3 separate regions of the Homo sapiens genome follow, and all the other regions are linked to region 1. The links are contacts of gene promoters, found by promoter capture Hi-C in blood cells and fetal thymus (Javierre and others, 2016). All regions are on one chromosome and are shown on one strand. The core of a region is centred on a gene start or on the middle of the fragment in contact, and the rest is flanking DNA. Distances in the headings are between cores, read along the strand shown. Region 1 holds the start of CCDC66 (coiled-coil domain containing 66). Region 2 has its middle 4.5 kb from the start of APPL1. Region 3 overlaps IL17RD (interleukin 17 receptor D).

Region 1 (3,530 bases), core at 325-2,824:
TTTGAATTTATGCAGGAATCTTGTACACATCGAACCAGTGTTTTAATTAAAAACGTTTGCAATCCAAGATAAAACCCACAACTACAGGGGGAAAATTCTTGAAACTCTTCAATACTACAAGCATTGTTATCATTAACCTGAAATCTCATTTTGTTATTGGTAAACTATAAATTAAGTTATCATACCACCATTTTTTAATAATGCTGTTACCAAAACTCCTCACATAAGTTAAAGGAACAAGATATATTTAACCGCCATTCATTAGTTTCATAATGAACTCATGACTAAAACATTCTATGGAGTGCTGGAGCATCGATATGACTACTAACAATGCCATCAAGGTTAGTAACTGCTTGAGCAAAGAGTACCACTTTCAATATTTCAAATAATACATAGTGATATTTAGTATGGTGCTTTATACGTGCATATCAGAAGCAAAGGCATAAAGTAACAGTAGCCACTGCCAACAAAACTTGAACGTCTGTTAAGGTCCTAAAACTCCACTGAGAACAAAAATGGCAGCCCATACATACAGTCCATAATTCAGAGAGAGAAAATTAAATCCAGCAAGCCAGTCAAGGGAGAGAGAGGCTGGGAAAGGTCTGATTAGGAATGCGAAATTTGCGGTGTTGCTCAGGTAGGGGAAATCAAATTACCTCACCTTAACTATTAAAGGTAAAACACTGGAAAGAATAGGTTTTACGGCTTTCCTTATTGTAGGGTTATGAACAGTTCGTGTTTATGTTGGTGAAACGTCACCAAGAAAGAAAAGAGCTTCAATGGTAAAGTACCTTCAATGACGCACTGCACTGTAATCTCCTTAAGGGACACACTATCTTATTTATTTCCATATCCCCAGATTCTAAAACATAATAACATTTGCTGAACGATGTGTAGTTAGGTCTGAGTTTGGTGGCTTCTCATCTTCTCAAAATATCAAACTTGCGAGTGATGAAGACCATGCACCAGCCCTTTTTATTTATTCACCCCTACTTAAGGAGCGCCTACTAGGTGTTAGGCACTGGTACTACATCGATTTCTTGAGAAGCCTGGTTCCCCGCCTCGTGGGCCTAAAACGAATTTGGGCGTTTCAACATTCTGCAAGACTCCAAAAACAAGGTGGCGAAGAACCCGGGGCATGGGCCAGGAGTCCTCCCCAGGAGCCGCCACGCTTCCTCTAACTGTCTCGTCATTTCTCTCCTTTCCTCCTCACCTCTCTTCCCTCCTCATCCTGAGGTAAATAAGGGACCGAAAGGGGATCACTGGCAGTTTTAATGCTAGTCATTAAGTGAAAACGTAAGGTCTGTGGAGTCGCTAAGGGCCGACCCATCTGCCTCGATCTTCTACCCGAGAACTGGGCTCTGCCCCTCTCGGCGGCGCAGGTTGGGAACGTTCTCCAGTAAAGACTCCAAGGGACAACCCAGACACACATGCCTCCCTCTCCGCTGACGACCACCTTGCTTACCCCAGCTTACCCCAGCTTACCCCTGCTTACCCCAAGTTCATGGCCTGACCTCGCACTCTCTCCACAGAACGCTCAAGCCCCTTGTGTACGTCGGTTGCCGCCGCCGCTCAGCAAGCGCTACGCCAATTGGATATAGGGGTGCCGGCGAGCTGAGCAAGTGGACCAATCAGGGTGGGGCATGCTGGCGGGTGCGCTGAGCTGGGCCGGGGCTCCCGCGGGGACGGTTGCGTATGCCGTTTGTTCCCCTTTTGTGCCCCGTTTGTGCCGTTTGTTCCCCTACGCACAGCGGAATTTGGCCTGACCCGGCTTATGAGTCTAAAGCTTCGGTGGCGGAGACCTGCGCTTCTCGCAATTGTAGCCTTCCAAAGCGCGTACACAGACACACACACACACACACACACACACACACACACACACACACACACACACACACACACACACCTTTTTGGGGTCACCATTTGCAAGTAAGTTACAGACATTGTAACACTTAACCCTTTAACATTGCAGACATTGTAACACTTAACCCTTTAACATTGCAGCATGTATCTCCTAAGAATAGATGTTCTGCTACATAACCGCAGTACAATTATTATACCTAAGATCATTAATTTCATAATAATTCTCTTCCCGATTTAATTTCCCCCACTTGTCCTAAGAATATCTTATAGGCATTTTATTTAGAAAGCAAGAGCCAATCGCGCCACTGCATTCCAGCAGCTTGGGCGACAGAGTGAGACTCCGTCTCAAAAAAAAAAAAAAAAAATGCAAGAGCCGATCAAGGATCACACATTACATTTGGTTGTTAAGTATCTTTGCACACACTCTTTCCAGACAAAAACAATGAAAGGTATTAATTATTAAATGCCTGACAAACCTTTACTTTTTTATTTTTTATTGTTGTAATATGTGTGTTAAAATTTGCTATTTTTAGCCATTTTCAAGTGACAATTCCATGATACAATGTTGTGGAATACGCCAGTATATTTTTCCAAAAGCTTTTTAGTACCCCCAAATAAAAATTCTGTACCCATTAAGCAACAACTTCCCATTTTCCTCTCCCCTCAATCCTAAGAAACCTCTAATCTTATTTCTGTCTCTAGGAATTTGCCTATTATAGATACTTCATGTCATAAAAGTGGAATCATACAATATTTGTCCTTTTGTGTCTTCTCTCAAGTAACATAATGTATTCAAGGTGCATCCATGTTGTAGGATGTATCAGAGCTTCATATCTGTTTATGATTGAATAGTATTCCATTCTATGTATATATATACCACAATTCGTTTACTCATTCATCCATTAATAGACATTTGGGTTGTTTCCATCTTTTAGTTATTGTGAATAATGCTGTAGTGAACACTGATGTACAAGTATCTGTTTGAATCCCTATTTTCAATTTTCTTGGTATACACCTAAGAGTGGAATTACTGGGTCACATGGTAATTCTATGGTTAACTTTTCGAGAAACTGCCAAACTGTTTTCATAACAGTTGCAGCATCTTACATTTCTGCCAGCAATGTATATGAGGTTCTAATTTCTTCACCCCAACACTTGCTTTTTCTTTTTCTTTTCTTTCTTTTTTTTTTTTTTTTAGAGACAGGGTTTTGCTCTGTCACCCAGGCCGCCTACATTGGTACGAACATAACACTGTAACCTCGAACTCCTGGTCTTAAATGATCCTCCTGTCTCAGCCTCCCAAGTAGCTAGGGCTACAGGCATGCACCACTACGCCTGGTTAATTTTTAAAAAAATTTTTGTAGAGACAGAGTCTGTTTACGTTGCCCAGGCTGGTCTCAAACTCCTGGCCTCAAGTAGTCCTCCCACCTCAGACTCCCAAAGTGCTGGGATTATAGGCGTGAGCCTGTAGCCAGAATGATTTCTAAAATGTGAATCTGCTTAATTCACTCTGCTTCTTAAAATCTCTCAATATAGGAGAACGTCCTTAACTTGATAAGCAATATCTACAAAAAATCTCCTAGAGACCGGGTGTGGTGGCTTATGCCTGTAATTGCAGCACTTTGGAAGGCCAAGGCAGGAGGATTGCTTGAGTGTAGGAGTTCGAG
Region 2 (3,530 bases), core at 640-3,139, 670 kb before region 1:
ACTTTGGGCAACTGGTTAATTTTATGGAAAGCAAGTCAGGATTAAACAACATCCACTAAAGATTTCTTTGAGATGTTTCACATATATACCTTGAGACATTTCACACGTATAATTTACAACAAAAGGACGTACAGTCTTGTAAATAGAGTTGTTAATTATTAGTCTCCTAAAATTATATTTGGTCTTATAATTAGGTTTTTACATGATACTCCTTGAAGTTCTGGTCTGTGATCTGTAATAGGAAAGAATCCAATAACCCAAGTGATGCTGGTGCTTTACTTTTAAAAATTATCCCTTTAGGTCAGTGGTTTCCAAACTTAATGCACACATAAAAGTTATCTGGGAAGGTTGTTAGCATACAGATTCCTGAGCCCTGCTGGAAGATTTTGGTGTAGTAGGTCAGAGTCAGGGCTGGGAATCTCTCCAGTTAAGTCTGAAGTGGGTAATCCACAAACCACATGAGGAAAAACTCTATCCAAGATGGAGAATGATCATTTCCCTTTCCTAAATCACTTTGTATTTAAAAAAAATTTTTAAAGAGTCAGGTGGGCACAGTAGCTCATGCTTGTAATCCTAGCACTTTGGGAGGTCAAGGTGGAAGGATTGCTTAAGCTCTGGAGTTTGAGACTAGCCTGGGCAACACAGAGACACCATCTCTACAAAAAAAAATTAAATTAAATTAAAATTTTAAAAAATTGGCCTGGTGCAGTGGCTCATGCCTGTAATCCCAGCACTTCGGGAGGCCGAGGCGGGTGGATCACCTGAGGTCAAGAGTTCAAGACCAGGCTGGGCAACATAGTGAAACCCCGTCTCTGCAAAAATTAGCTGGATGTGGTGGCAGGTTCCTATTATCCCAGCTACTCGGGAGGCTGAGGCAGGAGAATCGCTTGAACTTGGGAGGCGGAGGTTGCAGTGAGCCGAAATCACACCACTGCACTCCAACCTGGGTGACAAAGCGAGACTCAGTCTAAATTAAAACAAAAATTAACAAAAAATAAAGAGTCAAGCAAACATTTAGAAAAGGAATCCTAGATTCCAGCTAAGGATGGTGAGGACATGATTTCCAGGCTAACGAGCTGGAAACCACCTACTCACAAATATTCTCTAAAAGACTCCATCAATCTAAAATTCTGGGAAATTCATACTCCTTTTAAAGAGTGTAATGTATAATGCAAAAAATTCTGGTTGTTACCTAGTAAATCACTCCTTAATAGGACTAACTTTAACAGATAATTCATTATTTTCTTAATACCAGCTGAGATAAAGCAGATTCAGGAAAGAGCAGATTTCAAGAAAATTGATAATTTGGGAACTTCAGTCATTTAATCTATTTTAAAACATTAGAGCCAGTAGCAGAGTAGGGGGAAGCTTTGGACAATTGGAGGGTAAAACAAAAAGTTCTGAGGAATGGGTTGCAAAAAGAGGTGGGAGGGCACTAAGGACCAACTGGTTGGTTCTTCATTGTGCCACTGCAAACTAGCTTCTGCCTTTGACCTTGACCTTGATGTCACTTTTACTCATTGCCACAGCATCCTTAGAATGTGGGACAATTCTGCAGCTTCAACTTTCTTGATGGTAAAAAGAAAAAAAAAAACTTCTAGGAAAATTGTATATGCTTTTGTTTATCTATGGTTGCCTTGATTCCTTTTTAGAAGAACACATTAATTAATTTGTCTGAGCAGGCCAAGAACTTTAACACAAAATAGCATCATAGCCCTTCTGTGGAGAGGTAGATGAGAACATGGTTATGAGCTAATAAGCTTGGGCTGTGATTTAAATTCTGGCTCCACTGTTTAGTAGCTCTGTGACTTAAGTAAGGTTATTTAACTTCTCTGTTTCTCCATTCTGCCATCTGAAAAATGGAGCTTAATACTAGAGAACTTACATTAATAGTATTGTTAAGATGATTAATGAGCTTTTAGAGTAGCTCCTAGCGCAATAAGCATTCAGTAAAAATTATCTTTTTCATTATCAACTATTAAATATTAAAATATTTTAATACATTTAAGGAAGCTTTTTTGTCTCTATCATATTTTTTTAAAAACTAATATTTTTTAAATCAGAAGATTGGGCTCATTACCTTAGAGAATCCTGATGCTATTTTAAATAACATTAGTTACTCTTGCTAATGTTTTATCACTTTGATTTGGGGGCTTTTGAGGCCAAAACCAAAATTTCAAAATCAATAAATATGTACTTTGAAATTCTGGAGGAAAAGTGTACCAAAACAATTACCAAAATAGCCAAGATTATTGCCATTTTGAGGTTTTTAGGAGTTTTTGTTTTGTTTTTTGTTTTGTTTTTTGTTTGGCGGGTGGTGAGTGGGTAGAGGTGCCCCAAAGTTAAAAGATTTTCATGACACTTACCCCACATGGGAATTCTGGAAGGAACAGTCAAATCATTGGGGAAAAAATTGCTCATAGGCTGGGGGCGGTGGCTCACAGCTGTAATCCCAAAATTTTGGGAGGCTGAGGTGGGAGGATCGCTTGAGCCCAGGAATTTGAGACTAACCTGTGCAACATAGTGAGACCGTGTCTCTACAAAAAATTTAAAAATTAGCCAGGTGTGGTGGCACATGCCTGTAGTCCCAGTTACTCGGGAGGCTGAGGTGGGAGGATTGCTTAAGCCCAGGAGGTCAAGGCTGCAGTGAGCCGTGATCTTGCCGCTGTACTCCAGCCTGGTGATAGCGAGACCCTGTCTCAAAAAAATGCTTTTAGGGAAATTAATATGTCCTGTGCCTGTTTAATCATTGAAAACATTTTAATATTTTCAGAGCCATAGAGGGCAGTGAAAAACAGAGTAGCAGAATTGATTATACCAGTACTATTTATCCAATGGCTAATACAAATAAGACTCTCAGGGATAATTCACACGTGCTTCCAAGAACACTAGATGGCACCAATTATTTAGGATTCAGACTACCTCAGGGAACAGCTGTCTTCATTCAACAAATATTTATTAAATAATGAACAAAACAAAAATATCTGTCATTGTGGAGCTACAGGTTAGTAGATATGGTGGGGAGAAAGACAATAAAAAATAAACATAGTAAGTAGTATTAGAAGTATAGCATATTGGCCGGGAGCAGTGGCTCATGCCTATAATCCCAGCACTTTGGGAGGCCAAGGCGGGTGGATCACGAGATCAGGAGTTCAAGACCAGCCTTGACAATATGGCGAAACCCCATCTCTACTAAAAATACAAAAATTAGCTGGGCATGGTGGCACGTGACTGTAGTCCCAGCTGCTCGGGAGGCTGAGGCAGGAGAATCGCTTGAACCCGGGAGGCAGAGTTTGCAGTGAGCCGAGATTGTGCCACTGCACTCCAGCCTGGGTGACAGAGCACGACTCCATCTCAAAATAAATAAATAGATATATAAGAAGTATAGCATATTACAGCTACAAGGCTGTAGTGAGCTATGATTGCACCCCTGTACTCCAGCCTGGGCAAACCTTATCTTATATAGTAAAATAAAGAATAGTATGTTAGAATGTCATAAGTGCTATAGAAAATAGAGTAGGGAAGGCCAG
Region 3 (3,530 bases), core at 448-2,947, 540 kb before region 1:
AGATGTAGCCTTGTATACCTGTGTGAAGCCATAGAGGAAGGTGCTAGCCAGTCCTGAGTGAGTTACTCAGAATGACCATGTTAATGCAGTTCACTAGCCTCCTCTCCAGCCATGGACCAACTAGTAAACAACATAGGTGAGCCTGAGGCTATGAGAGTGTCGAGATAGGTCCCCTTTGTCAGTCACTGTCTGGATGTGAGTCACCTATAATTGTGGGTGACTGGCATCCAGGCCTGAGCCCCATCTCCCAGCTCACTTTGGAGTCACTCATCCACATCCTCCTCTCAGAGCCTGCCAGCCTTCTCTCCAGAATCTGCCCCTCCAATCTAGGCACCTCACTCACCAGATCAACCAACCTCAGTTTCTCTGTCCTGTGCTCTCTACCACCTGTTGCTTCCTTGAGGATATCCTATGTAGGGTGTGACTTGGGCAAGGTGCCAAAAGCACTGCGCTTCTGTCCCCTCACTTGTAGGGCAGGAGTGGTAATGACTCCATGTGATACAAAAATGGATGGATGGCAAGTTTTTGCAGAGGGACTAGGGTGTGACCATCACCCACGGAACTTTAGCTGTTCCTTGGTATGGTGTAACCTGGAGCCTGCACATAGCTGTGCTAATAAGGGTTAAGGGGCAGATGAGATGGCCTCCTTCTGACATTTCCCTTCCTGTTACTCACTTCCCGAGCCTCTTCCCGAGCCTTCTGTATGGGTGAGGTGCCTTGTTCTCTTTCCAGGTGGCTCTGGACCTGTGGGAAGACTTCAGCCTCTGTAGAGAAGGGCAGAGAGAATGGGTCATCCAGAAGATCCACGAGTCCCAGTTCATCATTGTGGTTTGTTCCAAAGGTATGAAGTACTTTGTGGACAAGAAGAACTACAAACACAAAGGAGGTGGCCGAGGCTCGGGGAAAGGAGAGCTCTTCCTGGTGGCGGTGTCAGCCATTGCCGAAAAGCTCCGCCAGGCCAAGCAGAGTTCGTCCGCGGCGCTCAGCAAGTTTATCGCCGTCTACTTTGATTATTCCTGCGAGGGAGACGTCCCCGGTATCCTAGACCTGAGTACCAAGTACAGACTCATGGACAATCTTCCTCAGCTCTGTTCCCACTTGCACTCCCGAGACCACGGCCTCCAGGAGCCGGGGCAGCACACGCGACAGGGCAGCAGAAGGAACTACTTCCGGAGCAAGTCAGGCCGGTCCCTATACGTCGCCATTTGCAACATGCACCAGTTTATTGACGAGGAGCCCGACTGGTTCGAAAAGCAGTTCGTTCCCTTCCATCCTCCTCCACTGCGCTACCGGGAGCCAGTCTTGGAGAAATTTGATTCGGGCTTGGTTTTAAATGATGTCATGTGCAAACCAGGGCCTGAGAGTGACTTCTGCCTAAAGGTAGAGGCGGCTGTTCTTGGGGCAACCGGACCAGCCGACTCCCAGCACGAGAGTCAGCATGGGGGCCTGGACCAAGACGGGGAGGCCCGGCCTGCCCTTGACGGTAGCGCCGCCCTGCAACCCCTGCTGCACACGGTGAAAGCCGGCAGCCCCTCGGACATGCCGCGGGACTCAGGCATCTATGACTCGTCTGTGCCCTCATCCGAGCTGTCTCTGCCACTGATGGAAGGACTCTCGACGGACCAGACAGAAACGTCTTCCCTGACGGAGAGCGTGTCCTCCTCTTCAGGCCTGGGTAAGGTGCCTTTGGGGCCGGGTCCTAACAGGCCGCAGCCTTTGACCATGCTTCTGAAATCAGTCAAAGCGTTTTTCCACTTTTGGTGCCAACTTATTGGGCAATGAAACCTGATGAGAACACAGCTCGTTTGGTAGTCTTGATTTATACCAGGTGATGGGAGTACTCACATGTTTGAGTTGCAGAAATACTAATGCTAAATTATAGTGAGCTGCCCAGACCCTGCAAGGGGTGTTGTGCCACATACAGACTATGCACTGTATCACTTTTCTAAACTCCAAAAACATCAGACACGAAAACACATTGGGCCCCAAGGGTCTTGGGTAACAGTTTGTGGATGCGTCTTTTTTAGACCTGTAATGTTCACACCCCCCGCCCCCATTGTCTTTAAAGCTACATTCATTGAGTCTGGGATTCATGGGTACAGTATTCTTTCTATCCTTCAGCATAGGGTCCCAGGTATGAGGGCTCTCTAGGAAGGCCTACTTCTGCAGGGAGCATCAGGTAGATGCCATCTCAGGCTGTCCCTTACCATGTCTGTAACTAGTTGGAGTCATGCATACAAACCCTTGACTTTTTTTTTTTTTTTTTGAGATGGAGTCTCACCCTGTCGCCCAGGCTGCAATGGCATGATCTCAGCTCACTGCAACCTCTGCCTCCTGGGTTCAAGCGATTCTTCTGCCCAGCCTCCCGAATAGCTGGGATTACAAGCATGCGCCACCATGCCCAGCTAAATTTTTGTATCTTTAGTAGAGATTGGGTTTCACCATGTTGGCCAGGCTGGTCTCAAACTCCTGACCTCAAGTGATCCCTCAACCTCGGCCTCCCAAAGTGCTGGGATTACAGGCGTGAGCCACTGCGCCCGGCCTAAACGCTTGACTTTTAAGAAATATCTCTTCCTTCCTCAACTAAGGGAACTAGAACCTGTTAGGAGGATGAGAGTGCCCCATCTTGAGTTGGTTGGGATTCTTGCCTCGTTTATACAGAGCCCATAGTCCAAACCCAGATCCAGTCACATTCTGCCATGAGCACCTGCCCAGCCCAGTGAAATGCAATGACAGTGTGACTCTGTACTCTCTTCTCTCCTTAGGTGAGGAGGAACCTCCTGCCCTTCCTTCCAAGCTCCTCTCTTCTGGGTCATGCAAAGCAGATCTTGGTTGCCGCAGCTACACTGATGAACTCCACGCGGTCGCCCCTTTGTAACAAAACGAAAGAGTCTAAGCATTGCCACTTTAGCTGCTGCCTCCCTCTGATTCCCCAGCTCATCTCCCTGGTTGCATGGCCCACTTGGAGCTGAGGTCTCATACAAGGATATTTGGAGTGAAATGCTGGCCAGTACTTGTTCTCCCTTGCCCCAACCCTTTACCGGATATCTTGACAAACTCTCCAATTTTCTAAAATGATATGGAGCTCTGAAAGGCATGTCCATAAGGTCTGACAACAGCTTGCCAAATTTGGTTAGTCCTTGGATCAGAGCCTGTTGTGGGAGGTAGGGAGGAAATATGTAAAGAAAAACAGGAAGATACCTGCACTAATCATTCAGACTTCATTGAGCTCTGCAAACTTTGCCTGTTTGCTATTGGCTACCTTGATTTGAAATGCTTTGTGAAAAAAGGCACTTTTAACATCATAGCCACAGAAATCAAGTGCCAGTCTATCTGGAATCCATGTTGTATTGCAGATAATGTTCTCATTTATTTTTGATGTAGAATTTACATTGCCATGGGTGTTAAATAAGCTTTGAGTCAAAAGTCAAGAAAGTGACTGAATATACAGTCACCTTTTATGAAATGAGTCTCTGTGTTACTGGGTGGCATGACTGATTGAGGTGAAGCTCACGGGGCCAGGCTGACCG

The links. Contacts are between HindIII fragments. The CHiCAGO score rates a contact against its expected background, and 5 or more counts as called.
Region 2: a contact is called between a fragment that was not itself captured here and the fragment with the promoter of CCDC66 in region 1, in 2 of 17 cell types (total CD8 T cells and activated CD4 T cells). The highest score is 7.4, in total CD8 T cells.
Region 3: a fragment that was not itself captured here is called in contact with the fragment with the promoter of CCDC66 in region 1 in 1 of 17 cell types (monocytes); the score reaches 5.8 in monocytes.

What each region holds. Positions count from the first base shown.
Region 1 is chr3:56,555,219-56,558,748 of GRCh38, reverse strand. It overlaps CCDC66 (coiled-coil domain containing 66), which reads right to left and starts at 1,574. Exons shown (of 18, transcript NM_001141947.3): 1 at 1,496-1,574. The coding sequence starts at 1,506. RefSeq lists enhancers at 1,159-1,318, 787-1,458, 1,459-2,131. The HindIII fragment of the contact is 1,896 bases long and covers 1-1,788 here.
Region 2 is chr3:57,221,451-57,224,980 of GRCh38, reverse strand. It overlaps a transcript of HESX1 not described here. Among named protein-coding and RNA genes, the nearest start is that of APPL1, 4.5 kb to the left of the region's middle. The HindIII fragment of the contact is 253 bases long and covers 1,763-2,015 here.
Region 3 is chr3:57,095,741-57,099,270 of GRCh38, reverse strand. It overlaps IL17RD (interleukin 17 receptor D), which reads left to right. Exons shown (of 13, transcript NM_017563.5): 12 at 733-1,675; 13 at 2,766-3,530. The coding sequence ends at 2,878. Among named protein-coding and RNA genes, the nearest start is that of SPATA12, 37 kb to the right of the region's middle. RefSeq lists an enhancer at 856-2,055. The HindIII fragment of the contact is 3,437 bases long and covers 1-3,415 here.